Regions from separate parts of the Homo sapiens genome. Here region 2 is linked to region 1. Evidence: promoter capture Hi-C in human tissues and cell types (Jung and others, 2019). All regions are on one chromosome and are shown on one strand. Each heading gives the region's core, a stretch centred on a gene start or on the middle of the fragment in contact. The rest is flanking DNA. Distances are from core to core; before and after follow the strand shown.

Region 1 (5,502 bases), core at 1,306-3,805:
GGACAACCAGGCCCCACAGAGCAGTGGGGCAGCCCAGCTTCTACTGAGTTCTCCGCTGCAGAGGTATAGTCACCAGCAGACAGCACGTGCTCCAGGCCAACACGCCCATATGGCTCTGCCTCCTCACCTTCTACCGTGAGCCACACTGGCTGGGAGATCTCGGTTTCACCCCCATCCTCCACCTGGCACCAGTACCGGCCGGCGTCAGAGCGCTCCACTGACTTCAGGCTGTGGAAACAGGATACGAGGCTTGCTTCCGAGGGCAAGGGCGGCAGCTCTGCTGGGCAAACTTGATGAGTTCAGCCTGCCCCCACTTCTGGAAGGTCCCACAGGTAGCCAAATAAAAAAACCACAGACCTCTGGGCATCAGGAGAGGGCCCCAGCTCCCAATCCCCAAGGAAAGAGCATAGCCTGCCCCCTGGCTGGCAGCCCACACCTTCCCCCACAGGCCTGCACCTGAGGAAGCCGATCCAGTGCTGCTCGCTGACTGGGATGTACAACTGGTCCAAGTTCTGGACCACAGCCCCATCCTTCACCCACTGGATGTCAGGCTCCTCCATCCCCTCCACACTGCAGTTGAGCTTCACCGGCTGCCCCTGAGACACTGTCAGCTTCACCGGGGCTCCCATGAGCTTCAGACCTGAGGGGTGGGAAGGAACATGTGTCAGCCTTGAGAGGGACTCTGTCTCTGTAAACAGTTCCCATTCTCTTCTAGAAGGTAGCTTCTGTGTCAGACAGAGGGCTCTTTCTCAGCCAAAGTCAAGGAAGCAGAGGTAGGACAGTGTGGAAGGGAAGGTCGCTGGACCTGGGCGAAGGGAAGGGGCATGGCAAGCTCTCCAAGTTCCCTCCGGCTCTAAGGACCTCTTCCCCATGTCCTCCTTCTGAGCCCAGACAGCAAAAGGAAGGCAGGCTGGGCTGAAACGATGGGAGTTACCCTACTGGGGCAGGCACTGCTCTAGGAATGACTGCTGCACCCAACTAGTGCAACAGGCTGCCAGCTCTCCACCCAAGGTGTCAGCCCAGACCCTGAATTGCTGCCAGCACCCTCTGCACCCAACCTTACCAAATGGAGCAGGGCTGAAGAAGGAAAGGAGGGGGTGCTCCCCTGAAGTGGAGAACATATGGCTGCAAAACCACGTCAGATCAAACACATGGCAGCCTTCCTGGCAGCCATCCACTCTATTAATACCTGAATGTGGGCAGGGGCGAGTGCTAGGAAGGTGGGAGGCAGAAGGGAGGGCTGGGGCCCTGAGCAGGGAGCCTAAGACCCCTGAGCCACTGCCACATTAACAGGGGCCACTCTTTGGAACTTGCGTGCGAGCGCGCGCGCGCGCGCGCACACACACACACACACACACACACACACACACACATACACGCACCTCTCCTGGCCTCCTGGCATGTTTTTAAGCAGAGAGAGGGGCAGGTCAAGTATCCACATAACTGAAATCCAGCCCTGCTTCTTCTCACCCTTTGCTGTGTGACTCTAGGCAAAGTCGTGGGCTCCCTGAGCATCAGGTCCGCACCTTTCGGCTTGTAAATACTCGTCACCCCGTTTCCCTTCCCTTCCCTGAGAGGCTGATATGGCAAGGAATGCTGTCTCAAGAGAAGATGCCAGCGGGTGGCCGCTGTCCTGGCCTGTGGCTCTTCCCTGCTCCCTTCACCCTCTCAGGACCAGTCACAGGATGGGGGCCAGCCTCCCGCTCCCTATATGCCCATCAGTCCCCGAGGTGCGGGGTGGGAACTTGGAGAGCACCGTGCTGCATGGAACGCTCTTGTCACCAGCAAATGCCTCAGTGGCTATGTGGGAACACAAGACTAACCCCTCCCAAAGACCAGCAACCTGGCACCAGCCCATCCTCTCCAAGGTTCTGCTTTCAGGAAGCTCTGAGGGCACAGGAACTCGAGTGTGCCCATTTGTTTTTTGTGACTGGGCACCCTCACAGCCCCTGTGTACCTAAATGGTATCAGGGTGGCCTTTGGGTGCCCAGCCCCGGCCCGTGTGGTTTCCGAGGCGGACCTTCGCGTGCGGGGCAGGCAGAATGGGGTCCCCAGTACTGGGAAGGAGGGAGCTAACAGCTGGGAACATCGAGGCGGGAAAATGCAGTCCCAAACACTCCCCGCTGACCACACAGCCCACACCCCGCTCCCTTCTCTTCCACCCCGCCAGAAGAGCCCCGAGCGCCAGAAAGTTGGGGGTGGGGGCCCGGCCGGAGATCTGGCGGCGAGCACTCCGCAGCGTGCCCTGTCCCGGCTCCGAGCCTCGGCCTTCGGCTCCGGACCCCCACCCCGACTCCAGCCCGCCAGGCCCGCCCCGGGCTCCGACCCCCGGCCGCGCCCCTCCGCAGCCCCCCGCTTCCCGCCGCCTCCCGTGCCAGCCCCTACCTGCGGCGGCGGACTCCGGGAGCAGCAGAGAAGCCAGAGCCGCCAGCAGCAGCCCGAGCCGCGGTGGCGGCGGCAGCGGCAGCGGCGGGAGCCCCGGCCGCCCCATGCTCCGCCTCAGCGCCATCGGCGGCGACGCCGCACCATGCCGGGCCCGGCCCGCGAGCGAGGAGGGAGGAGGGCGGGGAGGAGGCGGCGGGAAGGGAGCGGGAGGGAGGAGGGCTGCGGGAGGGGCTGGGGCCGCCCGTGGGGCGGTGCTGAGGCGACCGCCTCCGAGACCCGCGCCCGCCTCCGGCCGCGGTCGCCGCCGTCAGCAGCGCGGGGTCCCCGGGGCCGCTCCCGCGCCACCGCGCTCCTTCCACTGCCGTCGCCGCCGTCGCCGCCGCTGATTCATGTTCTTCTCGGAGCCGCCGCCTCCTCCCGGCCCGCCCGCAGCCCGAGCTCGCACCGCCCCCCCGCGGAGCCCCGGCGACTGGCTCGGAGCGCGAATCCCAGCCAGCGCCGCAAACCCCCGCGGCCCCGCCGGCGCCCCGCCGGCACGCCGGCCCCAGCCGCCCCCTGGCCAAACCTGAGGATCCGGCTTGGCCTCCAGGATGGGCTCCCCGGCCACGCCCCTCCTTTCCCTAAACCCGCTCCGGCATCTTTTCTAACCCAGCCCTCCAGAGCCTTCCCTCAAAACCCCGCTGTCAGCCCCCACCACACCCCAACTCTTGTTCGGACTCTGATCCCAGAATCCAGCATCCCCCTCTCAGGACTTAGAGCACCTCAACCCCTAGACACTCCCATCCATCTGGCTCCCCGAAACTGCCGTGACCCGGGGCTCCCCCAACAGGATCGGCTAGCATCCCTTCGTGCCTCCCTTTCATTGAGCCATTCACCCAAAATCCCCATATTCATGTCCTATTGCCATGCCTTTATCTCCAAGTCCCTCCCACCTGAAAAATGCCCATTTTCTCCAGCCCCAATTGCCGTATGTTTTCCAACTTGGGTCCTGAGTTTCCCAAGATCTTGGTAATCCCCAGGTTTTACCTAATATATATCCCCACCACTACACTACACAGGCCAAAGCCTAATTGCCCGTATCTTTTTGGGCTGTCATTTTTCCTGGTTGCTTCCCCTGCTTCTACCCCTTTTCCCAGGACCTGGTGTGAAAGTTGGCTGTGTCGTCACACTGTCCAGTCAAACATTAGCTATTATTAGTAGACCACCTTGCACACAGTAGGCTTTCCATAAATAAATAGGCAGATGCCTGTTAAATGAATGAATAATTGCTTCAGAGCCTGCCCCACAACCAGTAATCACGAGGGTGGCCTTGCCCACAGACATCCTGTTAGGCACATGCAGAGCTGGTTCCAAACCAAGCCTACCAAGTGTGCTCCTCCCCTTGCCCTTCCCTCCAGGGGGAAGCCCACCCCACACCCCTTCCAGAGGTCCTGGGTAGAGAGGAGGGACCAGCCACTCAGCTCCGGTTGCCGCAGGCTCACTGGATCTTTTCAGGGATTCTCCTGAGCAGCAGGGGCCTGCCTCTTCTTCCACTTGGCCCCAGCAGTGCTTGTTTATTAATTACCCTAATGATAACAACAGCAGTGCTGGCAGCAGCCTGAGACCCAGCTGGGGGCGCCCCCAGGCGGCAGCAGGAGGAGAGACTCATGAGGCACTGTCAAGACATGGATGGCAGGGGCCAGATATCTCTGTCTCTGTTTCTTTCTTTTTTTTTTTTTAATTGGCATATTTGTTTATTTCTCAGTTTGTGAAAATGTTCTTAATTTGTTGATGTAGCAAACAAATTTCAACTTTGATTGCTATGAAAAAAACAAGATAATCTGCTTTGCAATGAACTTTATATAGTTAAACTGCATACAGGCAACATGCTATATATGAAAAAGTTACTAACTGATCTACAGGTATTACATACTGAAAAGAGTTAACAGTTTATTATAATTTATTTTATTTAACAATCTAGGAAGTTCGCAGCCATCAGCAGTTCTAGTACAATTTCAGGTGCAATTGGGAATTCAGGAATCTCGATGGAGCTGTTAGTGTAGCGAACCTTGTAGGTAAAATACATGCATACTTTCGATAGCACATGTGAAGGTATCTCTCTAAAATTGACCTCATTGGTTTCGTTCTCAGCAAACTGACCTCACAGCATAAACAAAAATTAACTTAAGACCAAAGACCTAAATTTAAAAGCCAAACCCATAAAACGCCTGGGCCACTCAACATGGCTTTTATCGTGCCTGATGTTAATGCATGTTCTCTTTTTACAATAAATTCATGGCCATCAGATGATATCAATTTGACATACGTGGCATCAGGGCCTTCACAGCCACCATAGGTTTTCTCCTCTCCATCCATTTTGTTCTTATGAAATTCTACTTTGCTTCCCCAGGAACTTTAGTAGTTTCCTGGTGAGGCGAGGACACAGAGTGTGTGGCTCACTTCCGTCTCCTCTGTCTCTGTTTCACTGAGCTCTCTGGCAATTATGTTCTTCTTCCTTCTTCCTTCTTCTTCCTTCTTTCTTCTTCTTCTTCCTCTCCCTCTCTTCCCCTTCCCCTTCCACTTCCCCTTCCCCTCCTCCTCCTCCTATTCTTCTCTGCTTCTTCCTCTTCCTCTCTTTCTTCTTCTTCTTCTTCTTTTTTTTTTTTAGATGAAGTTTCACGCTTGTCGTCCAGGCTGGAGTGCAATGGTGCGATCTTGGCTGACTGCAACCTCCACCTCATGGGTTCAAGCGATTCTCCTGCCACAGCCTCATGAGTAGCTGGGATTACAGGTGCCCACCACCACGTTCGGCTCATTTTTGTATTATTAGTACAGACAGGGTTTCACCATGTTGGCCAGGCTGGTCTCAAACTCCTGACCTTAGGTAATCCGCCCACCTCGGCATCCCAAAATACTGGGATTACAGGTGTGAGCCACTGTGCCTGGCCTCTCTGCCAATTTTCTTGAGCACTGTGGGTCAGCTTCAGGACCCTTTCCCAAAGGAAAAGTCTCGTTACTTTCCAGAATCCACAGTTTCTGAGTTTGGGCTGAGTCAGGGCAGGCAGACAATAGTCTGGGGCCGAAGGCAGAATTGCCTGGGCTGCTCTTGGGCACTTGTCACTTTTCCAAGCCCTCTCT
Region 2 (5,206 bases), core at 1,973-4,472, 410 kb before region 1:
AACAATGTGTAAGAGTTCCAGTTGCTCCACATCCTCATCAATGATTGGCATGATCAGTCTTTCCTAATTTTAGACATTCTAATAGGTATGTGGTAGTATCTTGCTGTGGTTTTAATTCGCATTCTCCTAACAAACAACAATGTTGAACATGTCTTCATGTGCTTATTTGCCATCCATACATCTTCTTTTGTAAAATATCTGTTTAGATCTTTTTTCCATTTTTTAAATGGAAATTTTAAAATTGGGGTTTTTACTATTAAGTTTTAAGAAGTTTTTAAATATTCTGGATACAAGTCCTTTATCAGATATGTGATCTGCAAGTATATTCTGTGCCTTGTCTTGTCTTTTCATTCTCTTCACAGTACTTTCAAAGGTCAGAAGTTCTCAAGTTTAATGAAATCCAATTTACCAACTTTTTTTTCCTTTAAGGATTGTGCTTTTGGTGTCACCTAAGAAATCTTTCCCTAACCCAAGTTCACAACAATTTTCTCCCGTGTTTTCTACTAGAAGTTTTATAATCTTAAGTTTTACATTTAGTTCTACATTTATATTAGTTTTATATCTAGTTCCATTTTAAGTTAATTTAGTGATGTATCTATTTAGGTTAGGTTTATTGATTGTAACGAATGTTCCATTGGTTCAGGATGTTGATAGTGGGGGAGGCTGTGTGTCGGGGAGGGTGGGGGTATATGGGAACTCTCGGTACTTTATGCTCCATTTTGCTGTGAACCTAAAACTGATCTGAAATTCACGAGTCATTATCACTTACATTCACTCTTGGTGTTGTACATTCTGTGGGTTTTGACAAATATATAATGACATGTATCCATCATTATAGTACCATAAAAAGTAGAGCCACTGCCATAAAAATCCTCTGTTCTCTGCCTGTTCATTCCTTCCTTCTCCCTAACACCTAGAAACTACTGACCTTTTTACTTCCTCCATAATTTTGCCTTCTCCAGAATGTCATAAAGATGAAATCGTACAGTACATAGCATTTTCGGATTGGCTTCTTTCACTTAGTAATAGGCATTTAAGTTTCCTCTGTGTCTTTTTATGGCTTGATAGCTCATTTCTTTTTAGTGCTGAATAAGATTCCATTGTCTGGATGTACCACAGATTATCCTTTCACTTACTGAAGGACATGTTAGTTGCTTCCAATTTTTGGCACTTATGAATAAAGCCACTATGAACATCCATGTACAGGCTTTTCTGTGGATATAAGTTTTCAATTCATTTGGGTAAATACTAAGGAGCTGATTTCTGCATCATATGGTAAGATTGTATTTATATCCGTTTGTTTTTATGTATTCTAAAAAAATACATCGAAGCTTTTACTTTTGTTGTCAAATATGTCAGCCTTTGCTTTCATAATTTCTGTCCTTAATGTTGGTTAGAAAGGCTTTTCCACCGCCAAATTGTATAAATCTCTTGTACCTTCTTCTAGTAGTGCAGTGGTTTCATTTTCTTTTTACATTTCAATCTTTGTTTTATTTTGACACAAGGCAGATGTCTAACTTTATTTTCCCTTGGCTTTCTTTTCACTTCCCTAGTTACATACAATTCCCTCCAACTATGTGACCCACACAACAACTCCAAAGGAGTTTCCATTTTGCTCTTAAGGAAACTAGGGCAGAGAGGTAACTCATCACATTTAAAATCACACAGCCATTAATTTACATAGTCAAGGTTCAAACCCAGATCTTTTGATGCAAAGTCCTGTTCTCTCATACTCCAAGTATGGTCCAGGGATGGGTAGCATTGGCAATACCCGAGAGCCTGTTAGAAATGTAGAGTCATGGGCCCCATCCCATACCTACCGAATCAGAATCCGCATTTCTGTTAGGTTGGAGAAGTACTGCAGGGTGTACTGTTTCCCCAGACTTAGGCCACATCAGAGTCACCTAGGGCATCTGTTGAGCTCCATCTCTCCTCAATATTTTAACTCAGTAGGTCTGGACTGAAGACCAGGAATCTGCATTTTAACAAGCATCCCAGCTCATAAATGCATATATGCAGGTGGCCCCATGGATCACACTTGAGAAATGCTCTAAAACAACTAAGAAATATTCCTAAGCTACAATCAAGGACACAAAAGGTGATTATTTCCCCCAATCTCAACTTAGATAAGTGAGTATCCTTTTAACCTAGAAAAGAAACAGGCCAGGGGCGGTGGCTCACGCCTATAATCCCAATACTTTGGGAGGCCAAGGCAGGCGGATCATCTGAGGTCAGGAGTTCAAGACCAGCCTTACCAATATGGTGAAACCCCATCTCTACTAAAAATACAAAAATTAGCTGGGCATGGTGGTGAGCGCCTGTAGTCCCAGCTACTCAGGAGGCTGAGACAGGAAAATTGCTTGAACCCGGGAAGCGGAGGTTGCAGTGAGCCGAGATCGTGCCACTGCACTCCAGCCTGGGCGACAGAGCGAGACTCCGTCTCAGAAAACAACAACAACAACAAAAAACAGCTAGGAGGTGACAATGACTCACATGTCAATATGTGGAAATAAAGTTGTAATAATGAGGATAATGTAATAATGAGAGTAATGACTAAATTTTCGGCTTTACAGAAAAACACATAAAGAAAACTAAGGGGAAAAAGCCTTTAGCTGATCCAGAATTTAGTGAGGGCAATGTGGAGAAGTAGGAGAAACGGCTACTCAAATAGATTCCAGTCCACTTCCCCTCAAGATTGTGTCAATTATGCCCGTGAGCCTGGGTCTCTTGGCCTGTAAAACGGAGTCATAACCACCCGCCCCCGGGAAGACAGAACCTGCCTGTCCACTTTCTGAACTTTTCATCCCCAGTATCGACGTCCAGAGGCCTGAATGAGTAAACGTTCCAGGAGATGGAGCAGCCTCCGGAGGCTCGCTTTGGGCAGCTCAGATTTACCCGGAAGCCGATGCCACCTGGCCAGAGGTGAGGCACCGGCAACCAGAAGGGGGCCCTGAGCATGACCGGTCAGTGCCACCCGGCCGGGAAGACACCATCTCCCCGCCCAGTCCTCTAGAATGACTCCGTCATCAATAATTCATTAAGAACCTCCTCTCAATTGGCTGACGCCTTCAGCCCTCTCTGGCAGAGATCCAATCAGGAAGGACCTGAGAGAGCTCGTCTGAATAGTGGGCGAGCGCGCGTGACGTAGCGGCCGAAGACTGGCTGTGGCAGCACAAGGCGGGGCCCTCCTCGGGCGGCGGCCAGCGCGGCCGGGGCGGCTCAGTGCGAGCCGGGGAGAGTCGAACCCGGAGCAGGGTCCCATCCGAGCGTGGACTGGCGGCAGGATGTTCAGCTGGATGGGGCGGCAGGCGGGCGGGCGCGAACGCGCTGGCGGCGCGGACGCGGTGCAGACGGTGACGGGCGGGCTGCGCTCGCTCTACCTGCGCAAGGTGCTGCCGCTGGAGGAGGCGTACCGCTTCCACGAGTTCCACTCGCCTGCGCTGGAGGACGCCGACTTCGAGAACAAGCCCATGATCCTGCTGGTGGGCCAGTACAGCACCGGCAAGACCACCTTCATCAGGTACCGTCACCGCCCCTCGCCCGGCTCCCGCCCCGCTCCGCCCTCCCCACGTGTGCGCCGCAGTCGGCCGCCTCCCGCCGCTGCCCCTCCCGGCCGGCGCGACCTCGGGGACCCCTCCCGGAGCTCGGCGCCCGGTGCCCTCGGCCCCGCCCCGGCTGGCCAGCCCCGCGCGCTGGAGGGTCCCGCGAACCCGCGCCCTGCGCACTCCGAGCCCTCCTTCCTTGCGGTTCGGAAGGCGTTGCTCCCGCTGGCCTCGTCCGGTCGCCCTGGCGGGAGGGTCCAAGGGAGAGAGGGGGCGCGAGCCATAATCAGCATATTCTTGACGAGGGAGTGATGCCTAGGGATGGAAATGGGGGGAGAGGCGTAGGGTATCCGAATGGGACAGAGTCCTAGTTGGAGAGTTTGTTTAACTATTCATTTGTTCAACTATTTCTTGAACAAATGAATGGCAGCAGGAGAGCGTATCGCCCAGGCCCCCTTCCCTTGAGGTCTTTACGTGCCACCCCACAGTGTTGTGGGGAGGGGATAAAGAGGCCGCCTACGTTCAGTTCATGCACCGCCTTTAGCCGCCCGTAGGAAGTGAGCTGCGTGTAGCAGCCGCACCAGCCTGTGGAACTAAGGGGGAGTGTCATATTACTATTTGTTAGTTTCCATTTCTTAGGTGGGTCATTCCCTCCTCGCTTACCCTTGACAACTGAAAATATTTGTCATGCTTACCGTGTTTCTGAAAGCACACAATCACTGTGCATACCCTGTGGTTCAAATCATATAGTTTCAAAAGAAGTGACTTTTGCTGGGAAATTATTTAGACAGAAACAGATTGCTTTGTTGATCACCTGTTTTATTTCTAAAGCAGCCAGCATATTTAGGCTCACTGTTTTTGGTAAGAAGAACTTATTTTTCTGACTTAAGCCGTGTATCAGTTGAAACAAAGTGCTGATCATTTAAGGTTTTGGTCCAGGGTTTTGGAAATTGTAACAATCTCTTCATCATTTGATGTGCAACAGGTGTTGAGAAAACTGCATCTATATTTGGATACATGCCATTTCTGTTAAGTAGCGACCTCTTTTTCTCCACTCCAGTGACCTAAATAGTTCCTACAAATAGAGTAGCTATCACTACAGGAAATATGTTAAATCCAGGCCTCCAGATACACTGCGAATGAATTCCACAAAACAAATATACTGTGTATTGAAATGTCGTTCTAGATAATAAATTGAGTGTGAAGAAAGTAATTTCAAAATTGCTTTATTTGGTGCTTATGGACAAGACAAAAATAGAATTAAATATGTCACCGTCACCCAGACACTCAAAATGAACCATAGCTGTATTACAGTAACTGGCACCTTGAAAGATGACAAATGTCACATTTAAGGTCTCAGTAATACTGTCTAGTTTTTAGGTACTAGGGATAATAAAGTGTTATGGCCAAGTGGTACAAGAGTGGGAAGCGGTACTGTTGAAACATACAAAGAAGAAAGGCATATATTTTTGTAATTTAGTGGTGGCATGTCCCCACACCCTAGGCATTTCCTCCTGTTTGTCTTTGCTGTGAGGTCCTTGTTGTGCCCAGGTGTCATCAGGGAGCCCCTGCTAGATGCTGTGCCAACCTGGAGATAATGCAGCCCTCTCTCTGCTCCCATAGACTGGATAGCTAGCCAGCCTGATTATCAACTCCCAGGAAGA

The links. The method cuts DNA at HindIII sites, captures the fragments that hold promoters and counts their contacts. A contact is called where the count stands out against the background at its distance.
Region 2: the fragment with the promoter of EHD4 here is called in contact with the fragment with the promoter of TYRO3 in region 1 in 1 of the 25 tissues and cell types used here (IMR-90 fibroblasts).

Annotation. Positions count from the first base shown.
Region 1 is chr15:41,556,265-41,561,766 of GRCh38, reverse strand. It overlaps TYRO3 (TYRO3 protein tyrosine kinase), which reads right to left and starts at 2,555. Exons shown (of 19, transcript NM_006293.4): 1 at 2,386-2,555; 2 at 457-640; 3 at 128-228. The coding sequence starts at 2,509. It also overlaps the pseudogene ELOCP2. RefSeq lists enhancers at 1,427-2,068, 2,635-3,136 and silencers at 1,940-2,140, 2,447-2,616, 2,627-2,766, 2,705-2,871, 2,817-2,906. The HindIII fragment of the contact is 10,010 bases long and covers 1-5,502 here.
Region 2 is chr15:41,970,573-41,975,778 of GRCh38, reverse strand. EHD4 (EH domain containing 4) reads left to right here and starts at 3,222. Exons shown (of 6, transcript NM_139265.4): 1 at 3,222-3,520. The coding sequence starts at 3,285. It overlaps PLA2G4E-AS1 (PLA2G4E antisense RNA 1), which reads right to left and starts at 3,016. Exons shown (of 4, transcript NR_120334.1): 1 at 2,781-3,016; 2 at 1,821-1,975. RefSeq lists silencers at 3,171-3,300, 3,341-3,410, 3,511-3,780. The HindIII fragment of the contact is 6,706 bases long and covers 602-5,206 here.